Linked DNA regions of Homo sapiens: all the other regions are linked to region 1. Evidence: promoter capture Hi-C in 16 types of primary human blood cells and fetal thymus (Javierre and others, 2016). All regions are on one chromosome and are shown on one strand. Each heading gives the region's core, a stretch centred on a gene start or on the middle of the fragment in contact. The rest is flanking DNA. Distances are from core to core; before and after follow the strand shown. Region 1 holds the start of DUS1L (dihydrouridine synthase 1 like). Region 2 overlaps FOXK2 (forkhead box K2). Region 3 has its middle 12 kb from the start of TEX19.

The links. Contacts are between HindIII fragments. The CHiCAGO score rates a contact against its expected background, and 5 or more counts as called.
Region 2: a contact is called between a fragment that was not itself captured here and the fragment with the promoter of DUS1L in region 1, in 1 of 17 cell types (non-activated CD4 T cells). The highest score is 6.1, in non-activated CD4 T cells.
Region 3: a contact is called between a fragment that was not itself captured here and the fragment with the promoter of DUS1L in region 1, in 1 of 17 cell types (activated CD4 T cells). The highest score is 5.5, in activated CD4 T cells.

What each region holds. Positions count from the first base shown.
Region 1 is chr17:82,063,592-82,067,603 of GRCh38, reverse strand. DUS1L (dihydrouridine synthase 1 like) reads left to right here and starts at 1,800. Exons shown (of 14, transcript NM_022156.5): 1 at 1,800-1,991; 2 at 2,535-2,781; 3 at 3,370-3,478. The coding sequence starts at 2,545. RefSeq lists silencers at 1,729-1,788, 1,799-1,868, 2,159-2,208 and an enhancer at 2,432-3,160. The HindIII fragment of the contact is 12,631 bases long and covers 1-4,012 here.
Region 2 is chr17:82,546,265-82,550,276 of GRCh38, reverse strand. The region is part of intron 1 of FOXK2 (forkhead box K2); the gene reads right to left. Among named protein-coding and RNA genes, the nearest start is that of FOXK2, 29 kb to the right of the region's middle. The HindIII fragment of the contact is 1,030 bases long and covers 1,774-2,803 here.
Region 3 is chr17:82,345,606-82,349,617 of GRCh38, reverse strand. No RefSeq gene overlaps it. Among named protein-coding and RNA genes, the nearest start is that of TEX19, 12 kb to the left of the region's middle. The HindIII fragment of the contact is 4,241 bases long and covers 186-4,012 here.

The sequences.
Region 1 (4,012 bases), core at 551-3,050:
TTCAGCCAGGGCGGTGGACAGCTGGGGCCCTCGCCTGTCTTTCCTTAGTGTGCACCCAACCTTGCAGTCCACCAGGGACATCTGGCCACCTCTGAAGACCACCAAGGCTGTTCTATCTGTGAATGCAGAAAATCTGAGACAGGTCTCAGTTAATTTAGAAGGTTTATTTTGCCAAGGTTGAGGACATGCCCATGGCACAGCCTCAGGAGGTCCTGACAACATGTGCCTGAGGTGGTTGGGGCACAGCTTGGTTTTATACATTTTAGGGAGACATGAGACATCAATCAATATATGTAAGATGAACATAGCGGCTAGCTGCGGTGGCTCACGCCTGTAATCCCAGCACTTTGGGAGGCCAGCGGATCACCTGATGTCAGGAGTTCGAGACCAGCCTGGCCAACATGGTGAAACCCCCATCTCTACTAAAAATACTAAAATTAGCTGGGTGTGTTGGTGGGTGCCTGTAATCCCAGTTATTTGGGAAGCTGAGGGAGGAGAATCGCTTGAACCTGGGAGATGGAGGTTGCAGTGAGCCGAGATCACGCCACCGCACTCCAGCCTGGGTCAGAAAGCGACTCCGTCTCAAAAAAAAAAATTGGTTCAGTCTGGAAAGGCGGGACAATTTAAAGCAAAAGCCATCGGGGAGGGAGCTTCCTGGTCACAGATAGGTGATACACAAACGGTTACATTGTTTTGAGTTTCTGATTAGCCTTTTTTTTTTTTCTTTTCCTTTTTGATCAGTCTTGCTCTGTCGCCAGGCTGGAGTACAATGGCTTGATCTCGGCTCACTGCAACCTCCGCCTCCCAGGTTCAAGCGATTCTCCTGCCTCAGCCTCCCGAGTAGCTGGGACTACAGGGGCGCACCACCACACCTGGCTAATTTTGTATTTTCAGTAGAGACAGGGTTTCACCGTGTTGGCCAGGCTGGTCTCGAACTCCTGGTCTCAATGTGCGCCACCGCGCCCAGCCTTCTGATGAGCCTTTTCAAAGGAGTCAGTCAGATATCCATCTATCTCAGCGAGCAGAGGGTGACTCTGAATAGAGCGGGAGGCAGGTTTGCCCTGAGCAGCTTCCAGCCTGAGTTTTCCTTAGTGATTCCGGGGGCCCAAGAGATTTCACATGTTTTAGGTACTGAATGTCCTGGTTCAACTTCGGGCTTCGCTCTCAGATATGGAAAGCTCTGACAAAGCTGCTTTTTACATCTGTTGGGTCTCAAATGCCTTCAGTTTAAAATAACCTTCACATCCACTCTGGGGTTCCCAGTGGGTCCCCACAGCTCGAAATAACCCAAGGAGGGTCCACGGCGGGTAGGAAAGTCGATCGAAGGCTGGCGGCTGCGGAAACCCAGGGCGGGCAAGGAAGGTCCCTGGAGGGTGATTTTCCGCAACGCAGCGGCGGAAAGTGAGTGGCTTTCAGAGGCGGCAGGTGAGTGGGTTCGAGGCAGGGCTCTGGGGCCGCTTTAGGATATAACGGGATGAAGCCCCCAATGCGAACTTGGGGGCTGGGCAGCGCAGGGCCTCAGCGCCCACGGTCTACCCGCGGCCCGGGCCTTATGTGCGCCTCAGCGAGGCCCAATTTCCACATGCCTCGTTTCCAGCGAGCTGTCGGTGAGTCCCGGCGAGCCCCGACCCCTCTCTAGCCACGGCCTGACGGGTACGGTGGTGACCTCAGCCTCTGACCTCCGACCCCGCGCCGCGACCTCTCGTCGCCGGTCCCCTCGGAGCCGGGCGCGGTTTCCGGGGAACGCGTTTCCCGCCGCACCGTGGGCCGCCCGGACCGCGCAGGACCGGGCACCTTCCGGTGGCGGCGCGGAGCCTTGGGCCCGGCTGCGGCCCGGCGGCGGCCCCGGCGCGGTGCGGGCGTTCGCGGCGCCCCGGGAGCTGCAGGGGCCCCGGGCGGCGGCGAGGCCGGAGAGGGGCGGGCCCGGGACACCGGCACCCGGCGCCCTCGGAGCCAAAGGCGCGCGGCGGACACGGCGGGGCCCTCGCGCGGTGAGGACGCGGAGGCGTGTGGGCTCCTGTCACTTCACACAGCAAACGCTGCCCGCCGCGTGGCTCCGGAGGAGTCTCGCGAGGGGCGCCCCTGTGGCGTTTCGGGCCAGCCGGGCCGCCTGGCCGGGTGCGGAGAAGGAAGCTCTGCCCTTCCCCTGGCCCGGCGCGGAGCCGATTCTCCCGGGAAGGGGCCGGGGGTCCTAACTTCACCGCCGGGCGGCCTGCTCAGGGCCAGGCCCGCGGGGACGCTGGCGTCAAGGTTTCTTCCCCCTTCACGCCAGTCCCCTACCAGGCCGACATCGAGTCCCGCTCCCCAGGGAGGGTCAAGTCCCAGGGGTCCAGCGGCTCCCCCGAGGTCCGCTAGGAGGTGGCGGCACTGGAGTGGCCGTTCTCCAGCCTGCACCGACCCCCGCCTTTAGTGCCCCCGCGTGTGACCCAACGGTGGTACTGGAGCGGCCTTAGAAGGGTGACCGCTGCCTCTGAGTTGAGTCTTAAGCCCCTCGTTGGGCCTGGCTGAACCCCGGGTCTGCGCCTTTCCCCCAGCCTGGAGACGATGCCAAAGCTGCAGGGCTTCGAGTTCTGGAGCCGCACCCTGCGAGGGGCCCGCCACGTCGTGGCCCCCATGGTGGACCAGAGCGAGCTGGCCTGGAGGCTGCTGAGCCGGCGCCACGGGGCACAGCTCTGCTACACGCCCATGCTGCATGCCCAGGTCTTTGTCCGCGACGCCAACTACCGGAAGGAGAACCTGTACTGCGAGGTGTGCCCCGAGGACCGGCCCCTCATCGTGCAGGTGCGCAGGAGGGGCTGTGGCCGCGGCCGCGGTTGGGTTCCCGGTCCTGGAATGCCTGGGGAAAAACCCTTCTCTCTGTGGCGGGACATCACTTTCAGCCTTTCCAGAGACAGCTCAATTCCAGGAGGAGAGGGAGAAGGTGGCACCAGGCATGTAGAGTCCACGTAGCCACAGCAGTGATTCCTGTGGTGGAGCCAGGGCTGCCAGGTGCACCTGCCAGAATCCAACCCCATTCTCTAGGAGTGGCTCAGGCAGCCTGGGTGCTGTGAGGTTTGCAGCCCTGCTGGGGCCTCTGGATTGCTGCCTCTCACACTCACACTCCCTCTTCAGAACCAGTGGAGATGGCTCTGCTCTTCAGAAGTCAGTGATTGTGGCTTCTGCCACAGTTCAGAAGAAAATCTGTAAATCCGGGTGGCTTGGGGACTCCTCCCGGCTTTGTCATATTGTAAGCCTCCGCAGGACAGAGCACCCTCCTGCAGTGAACCTGGGCCCACACCCTCATGGGGTCACACTGGACCTCTCGTAGGGCTGGGCAGCAAGGGACTAGGGCCTGGCTGGGCCCGTGGCTGACTCCTGCATCTTCTCCAGTTCTGTGCCAATGACCCGGAGGTGTTTGTTCAGGCGGCTCTCCTGGCTCAGGATTACTGTGACGCCATTGACCTGAACTTGGGCTGCCCACAGATGATAGCCAAGAGAGGTGAGCTCCATGTGGAGCATGGGGGCACCTGGGGCAGGGGCCAGAGCCAGCTCAGTGCAGCCCCAGGTGTGGTGAGCTTGGAGGACGGCAGGCCCTGCCTCTGTCGTGACAGTGGCTCAGGCTGGAGCCAGCTGTCCTCTGTGCTCCGCCTCTGGAGGGTGGCTGTCCTCAGGCCTTGGGGGCTAGGGGCCGAGCCCTACTGGCTCTCTCTTCCCTCAGGGAGCTCCCTCTGCATAAACATGATTGCTGATACAGGGTCCCCATTACCCCCTTGCACTGCTGTGTGTGGGGCTGAGCCTGCTACCTCACCGGGCCCCTGAGGAGGTGTTACTTGGTTCCAGACCGTGCAGGGTGGGGGTTCCATTCAGCACCTTCTGAGCTTAGGCAGCTGGGCAAATAGAGCCCCTGAGTCTGATGCCGACAAACCACTGCTCTGACTGTCCCACTGCCCCAACTGGAGACACTGCTGGTTCTGGGGACCTGTGTCCCGCCTGACAGGGCAGCTCCTGGCCTGCGTGGATGCAGGAAAGGGTG
Region 2 (4,012 bases), core at 1,039-3,538, 480 kb before region 1:
GTGGCAAATTAAAAACACTATGGCAGGCCAGGAATCCACAGAAGACATAAAGAAGCTCTTTGTGTGTGTGTGTGTGTGTTTGTTTAGAGACAAGGTCTTGCAGTGTCGCCCAGGCTGGAAGGCAGTGGCACAATCATGGCTCACTGCAAGCCCAGGCTGAAGCAATCCTCCCGCCTCAGCCTCCTGAATAGCTGGGACTACAGGCACGTACCACCACACCTGCCTGTTTTGTTTTTGTAGAGATGGGGGTCTCACTGTATTTCTGAAGCTGGTCTCAAATTCCTGGGCTCAAGTGATGCACCCACCTCAATCTCCCAAAGTGCTGGCATTACAGGCATGAGCCACTGGGCCCGGCCTTTTCCTGCTTTCTCAACTACAGGTCCCATGTTTTCATTCTGCACTGGACCCCACATGTTATGAAGCTGGCTCTATATTCTAAGGTATAAATATTAGGAAATGGCGGATGTCCTCAGGCAGATCCGCTTCTGTAGGCACATATCAGGGAGGCTCGATTCCAGAAACATTCATAACCAGGAGGCTAGTGTTAGGTGTTCCAACAACGCATGTGATGAGCAGCTCTGTAAGTGGCTATCGAGCATCCAGAGTTTTCCTTTGGCTTGGAGAGTAATTTGGGGGGTTTTGGCCCCCATCTCCCATTTGCTGCACTGCAACTGTAATAAGGAGAGTAATTTGGGGGGTTTTGCCCCCCATCTCCCATTTGCTGCACTGCAACTGTAATAAGGAGAATAATTTTGGGGTTTTGGCCCCCCTCTCCCATTTGCTGCACTGTAACTGTAATAAGGAGAATAATTTTGGGGGTTTTGGCCCCTCTCCCATTTGCTGTACTGTAACTGTAATAAGGAGAATAATTTTGGGGGTTTGGCCCCCCTCTCCCATTTGCTGTACTGTAACTGTAATAAGGAGAATAATTTTGGGGGTTTTGGCCCCTCTCCCATTTGCTGCACTGTAACTGTGATAAGGAAGTTGCTGGACAGGGCTGCCAGGTCTGCAGTTCGGTGTGGCAACTTGGTGTTGGGGTAAAGGCTGGCTCAGGAGCACACACCCTCACACTTAAGATCCTCACACTCGGAGCTACAGGCAAGGGCCACACCCAGAAGAGGAGGGAGGTGGACTTCAAGTGGCCTCGTAAAACAAAGACACATTCTCCTATAATGTTCAGTCATTCGGGATGTGTTTTAGACTAAGGAAGATTTCCACTCCAGGTCCTGCCAGAGGCTGCTGTGAGAAACTATCACGCTGGTCCTCTCATCTGGATCACCAGACAACAGCTGGGGATCTTAGTGCAGATGGCAGGGTCAGGCTCTCTGGAGGTCTCACGGGTGGTGGCAGTGGAAAGTGCACAGCCCTCCTGTGCCGATGCATCGAGACGCAACCGCTCCTCGGAGGTGAGAATGCTCTTGAGATCATTCTACCCCACACCCGCCCAAATGACATTCACGTAAAACCAAAAAGGGCTCTCTGCCAAACACCCATGCCTCCCCCAGGGTGAGGTCACGGGAGAGGCTGTGGGACAGCGCCTGGGTCCTTTCCTTCCTCTATTCAGTCCACAGCAATTCCTTCTGCTAATTCAGCTGAGCAGTAGCCTCCAAATGCTTTTGACTGTACACCTCTAAGTGAAAAATTAAGTAGAAATCAATATTTGAATATATGAAATACAGTATCAACAAACAGGGCAAAGGATGGAATGGGAGAAAATATTCACAATACACCTATCTCACAAAGGACTTCTGTTCAGGGTATATAAACAAAGCTTAATATTCAGTAAGAAGGTAAACAACCCATTAAAAATGGTCATTCACTACAGATGACATAGAAATGGCCAAAAGCACATGTAGAGATGCTCAACAGCAAGGCAAATTAAACCACGGTTGATGTAAATGATCCAAAGTATTAAAAAAAAATACACATACTGACATACCACTACACACCCAGATAATGGCTAATATAAGAAGACTGACAAAACCAAGTGCTGACAAGGATATGGAGCAACTAGCTGTCACATACTGCCAGCAAGAATACAAACTGGTGCAACTGCTCTGGAAAAGTGGGTCAGCTTTTCTGTGAAATAAATGCACACTGACCACCTGGCCCCACCACTCGTACTTGTAGTTATCTGCCAAGAGAAGTGAGAGCACCAGTTCACACAAATGTGACTCCTACACAGACGTTCACAGCAGCGTGATGCACAGCAGCCCAGACTGGACACTGTCTAGACAGTCAGCCGTAGGTGAATGGATCCACAAATGGGGGTACATCCATAGAAGAGAATCCACTCAGCTGCCGCCCAGCAATCGCAAAGGAAAACTGCCCACACAAGTAACACTGATGAACCTCAAATATACCATGTGAATAAGAGCGAGCCAAACACCAGTATATTCTACATGATTCCATGTTTATGAAACCCTGGAAGAAAACACTTCTACGGGAGGGGAGGCACAGAGTTGAGTGTCTGGGACTCTCCAGGGGGATGAGGCTGACTGCCAAGGGGCAAGAGGAAGGTTTGGGGTGAGGGGTAATATCTGGATCTATTATTTTGATTGTGATTTCGGCTACATGGTGTATACAGCTGTCAAAACTCTTTGAAAGGTACCCTTAAGTTTGTTTTATGTGAAATATTCCTCAAAAAAAAGTTTAAAGTAAAAATAAGCTGGCAACAATATATTAATATATGTATAAATTATATTACAGTATTGCACACTGTAAAACAGAAAAATAGCAACTAAGCAGGATGAAAAAAATAACCAGAAGTATTATTTTTCTTCCTAAACTCTTAAAACAAGCTTGTCCAACCCACGGCCCGTGGGCTGCATGCAGCCCAGGATGGCTTTGAATGTGGCCCAATACAAATTCATAAACTTTCTTAAAACATTATGATTTTTGTGATTTTTTCAGCTTACCAGCTCTTGTTAGTGTAGACAATACTTTTTCCAATGTGGCCCAGGAAAGCCTAAAGACTGGACACCCTGAATGTAAAGTATCACCTTGATCACTTCCGGGGAACCACAATGGAGAACCACAATACTACAATGTGAACCACAATACTACACCCTGAATATTCTAAACACAGGGAGTATGATGCTTAAGGTTGTAGCTTTAAAATCAGTAGTAATAGACAGTATACACTATAAGAGAGATCAGTGTATTCTTTCTTTCTTTCTCCTTCCTTTTTTTTTTTTTTTGATGGAGTTTTTGCTCCTGTCGCCCAGGTTGGAGTGCAGTGGTGCCATCTCGGCTCACTGTGACCTCCACCTCCCGGGTTCAAGTGATTCTCCCACCTCAGCCTCCAGAGTAGCTGGGACTACAGGCACCCACCACCACGCCCGACTAATTTTGGTATTTTTAGTAGAGACGGGGTTTCACCATGTTGGGCGGGATGGTCTCAATCCCCTGACCTCAGGTGATCCATCTGCCTCGGCCTCCCAAAGTGCTGGGATTCCAGGTGTGAGCCACCGCACCCGGCCTGAGTTCTTTATTTAAAAGCGAGTTTTAGGTTGGGCTCAGTGGCTTACACCTATTATCCCTGAACTTGGGAGTCTGAGGTGGGAGGAACACTTGAGCCCAGGAGTTCAAGACCAGCCTGGGCAACATGGTGAGACCCCCGTCACCGTTTAAAAAAAAGGAAAAGAAAAGCGAGGTGTTACCTCTGTTTGACACTGGGACGCAGCACTTCACTCTTGGGGCACTCTACAGATTACCTCTCCCTCCACTCGGGACCTGCAGCGAAGAGCTCCTGCATGTGCACTCAGACTCCTAGCTTCCCCACCACACTTACAAGGCGAGCTGCACCGAGAGGTGAACATTTGTTAATGTGCAGGAAAGTATTTTTAATATACCACGCTGGCTGGGTGCAGTGGTTCATGCCTGCGATCCCAGCACTCTGGGAGGCCGAGGCAGGTGGATCACCTGAGGTCAGGAGTTTGAGACCAGCCTGGCCAACACGGCGAAATCCCGTCTCTACCAAAAATACAAAAATTAGGCGGGAGTGGTGGCA
Region 3 (4,012 bases), core at 1,057-3,556, 280 kb before region 1:
CAGGAATGAGGGGGAGGCAGTCAAGAAATCGCTAATTAAAACCAGCGCTTTCCCACCCTTCTGGCTGGGAGGGGGCCGGGAAAGACGAGGAAGTGGAAGAGGTCAGGAGAAGGCAGTGAGTGAACAGATTACTGTCCCAGTCTCCACCTTTGTGTTTATGTTTGTACTTTTCCATGATAAAAGCTTTGTTCTGAACATCGGCCTCCCCCGGGCTGTGCAGAGCTCCACGGCCCCGGCTACCCCAGTGGCTCCAGTGGCCGACAGGGTTGATTCTACTCACCTGAGCAGGTGAGCCTCCCCAGAGTCACCTGGCATCGCTCTGGTGGGTTTGAAGGAGAGGTCAGGATCCCAGGACATGCACGCGCGGGTGGCAGTGACCCTACCAGAGCTGGGGTCACGGGGGGAACTGAGGCACCCCCCACAGACATTTTTAAATTCTAAAATCAGATGCTTTTGTTTAGTTGTTCAGAGTGAGGCTTCTATGCCCCTGCATGTGCGTCTCCAGTTTGGAACTTATGCTCCTCTAGGAGTTCCCGAGGCTCTGCGTAGAGATCAGTGGAAGAATTGGCTCAGATCAGCCTCAAGTCCTGAGGAGCAATCGTATTTCAGGGACGGCTGGCTTATTTCATTTATTATAATTCTCCTATTTACTATTCAATTCCAACACAGCAGGTTTCCAAATGTGAGAGGGAAACATTTACGTCGTGGGGACTGTGGCTGTAAATTCCCACTATGGCAGGTTTCTCTTTGACAAATAAAAGCGTTGGTTGAATTATTGACAAGGAAGATAGATTTAGAAATGTGTGTCAGACGTGGGGCTGGGTGAGTTTGTGAAGGAGAGAGAGGTGAAGGAAAGCTATGAGGCGAGCAGGGCAGGGTGGCAGCCGGCCAGCCCAGGGGGTCTCGTGGAAAGCTATGAGGCGAGGAGCAGGGCAGGGTGGCAGCCGGCCAGCCCAGGGGGTTTCGTGGGTGTTTATGCTGGGACCTTGGCCCAGGACCCCACCTGGCAGCCTCTCCTTCCCAGCAGGGCCAGCCCCCTGCAGCCCCAGGCCCTGGGGGGCAGTCTTGGAGGGGCTCTGGCTCTGATGTCTTCCCTCCCTCCAACGCTGGTCCCAGCACTCAAATAGAAACTCAAATCCTATTTTCTGCGGGTAGAGATAGGATGACAAGAGGCCTCCCTTCTAGAAAGGAAAATGAGAGATCAGAAAAATCAGAAAAACCAGAAGGCATTGGCTGGGTGCAGTGGCTCACGCCTGTAATCCCAGAACTTTGGGAGGCCGAGGTGTGGGGATCACCTGAGGTCAAGAGTTCAAGATCAGCCTGGCCAACACGGTGAAACCTCGTCCCTACTAAAATACAAAAATTAGGCGGGCGTGGTGGCAGGCACCTGTAATCCCAGCTACTCAGGAGGCTGAGTCAGGAGAATCACTTGAGCCTGGGAGGCGGAGGTTGCAGTGAGCCAAGAACGCACCATTGCACTCCAGCCTGGGTGACAAGAGCAAAACCCTGTCTCAAAAGACAAGACAAGAAAATCAGAAGGTCTTAGCTCTGGTGGAAGAGCCCGGAGAGAGGGCGTTCAGGCTGGGACCCCCTCAGTCTCTCTGTCTCCAGAGGGGGGCGTTCAGGCTGGGACCCCTCAGTCTCTCTGTCTCCAGAGAGGGGGCGTTCAGGCTGGGACCCCCTCAGTCTGTCTCCAGAGAGGGGGCGTTCAGGCTGGGACCCCCTCAGCCTGTCTCCAGAGGGGGGCGTTCAGGCTGGGACCCCTCTGTCTCTCTGTCTCCAGAGAGGGGGCGTTCAGGCTGGGACCCCCTCAGTCTCTCTGTCTCCAGAGAGGGGGCGTTCAGGCTGGGACCCCCTCAGTCTCTCTGTCTCCAGAGAGGGGGCGTTCAGGCTGGGACCCCCTCAGCCTGTCTCCAGAGGGGGGCGTTCAGGCTGGGACCCCTCTGTCTCTCTGTCTCCAGAGAGGGGGCGTTCAGGCTGGGACCCCCTCAGTCTGTCTCCAGAGAGGGGGCGTTCAGGCTGGGACCCCCTCAGTCTGTCTCCAGAGAGGGGGCGTTCAGGCTGGGACCCCTCAGTCTCTCTGTCTCCAGAGAGGGGGCGTTCAGGCTGGGACCCCCTCAGTCTCTCTGTCTCCAGAGAGGGGGCGTTCAGGCTGGGACCCCCTCAGCCTGTCTCCAGAGGGGGGCGTTCAGGCTGGGACCCCCTCAGTCTGTCTCCAGAGAGGGGGCGTTCAGGCTGGGACCCCTCTGTCTCTCTGTCTCCAGAGAGGGGGCGTTCAGGCTGGGACCCCCTCAGTCTGTCTCCAGAGAGGGGGCGTTCAGGCTGGGACCCCCTCAGTCTGTCTCCAGAGAGGGGGCGTTCAGGCTGGGACCCCCTCAGTCTCTCTGTCTCCAGAGGGGGGTGTTCAGGCTGGGACCCTTCTGTCTCTCTGTCTCCAGAGAGAGGGCGTTCTGCTGTATAAACAGGAAGCCCCGGGTGCCTGAGGATCCTTGGCACAAGCAGGGCGGGGACCGGGTCGGGGTCGCCCACATGGGCACTATCCCGAAATCTTGTGCCATCTCTTGTATTTAAAAGCAGAGTGGTTCTTCCCCCCACACTGTGGCGGCTAGCTAATTTTTTTAAGTTTTGAGTTTTTAAACCCGAACCTGCCGCTGAGCAGTTTGCAGCTTCACACTCGCGTGTGCAAGAAACAGCTTCCTGACTTCCCCCTCGGAGCCCTCCTGGGGAGGGGAAGCCGCTCCTTGGCTGCTGCGCCCTCAGACACACGCTCCCTTGTGTCAGGTGTGTCAGGCCTCTGAGCCGAAGCTCAGCCATTGTAACCCCTGTGACCTGCACATGTATGTCCAGATGGCCTGCAAGAGCCAAGAAGTCTGGGGCAACCCAAATCTACAAAAGAATGAAACAGCCAGCTCCTGTCTTAACTGATTGACCAACCTTACGACATTCCATGATGACCTGTTCCTGCCCTGTCCCACCTGATCGATCGACCTCGTGACATTCTTCTTCCGGACAATGAGTCTTATGATCTCCCCACCATGTACCTTGTGACCCCCTCCTCTGCTGACAATAGGTAACCACCTTTCACTGTAACTTTCCACTGTTTACCCCAGTCCTATAAAACGGCCCCACCCCTACCTCTCTTTGCTGACTCTTTTCGGACTCAGCCCACTTGCACCCAAGTGAATAAACAGCCTTGTTGCTCACACAAAGCCTGTTGGTGTCTCTTCACATGGACGCACGTGACACAAAGTGCTGGGGTTACAGGCGTGAGCTGCCACGCCCGGCCCTCTTTGCTCTTTCGTACGAATTTTATTTTTTATTTTTATTTTTTTTCTTGAGACAGAGTCTTGCTCTGTCGCCCAGGCTGGAGTGCAGTGGCGCGATCTCGGCTCACTGCAAGCTCCGCCTCCCGGGTTCACGCCAGTCTCCTGCCTCAGTTACCTGAGTAGCTGGGACTACAGGCGCCCGTCACCACACCTGGCTAATTTTTTGTATTTTTTTAGTGGAGACGGGGTTTCACCGTGTTAGCCAGGATGGTCTTGATCTCCTGACCTCGTGATCCGCCCGCCTCGGCCTCCCACAGTGCTGGGATTTACAGGCGGGAGCCACCACACCGGCCTTCGTATGAATTTTAGAACCAGTTTTTCCAATTTCATGAAAAATTATCTTAGGAATTATATTAATTTCGGGAAAACAGTTATCTTTGGGTCCCACGTAAACACAGGGAGTGGGAAACAGTCGTGTGGCATCTGTGGCACAGAACACAGAGACCAGGCCCCGGCGGCTCTGCCAAGCGAGGCTTCGTCCCGGAGACTCGGCGTGTGGCCTCCGGGTCACAGAAACGGCCTTCGTAGCTGTTTGATGTCACACCAACGAGACTTCATTCGTGTTAGCAGAACTTTGGGGACGACGTGACCCTGCGTGACAGCCGGGAACACGGGAGCCAGATGTGGGGACAGCGGCGAGCTGGCACCCCGGATGGAAAGCCGGACAGAAAGGCGGACAGAGCTGC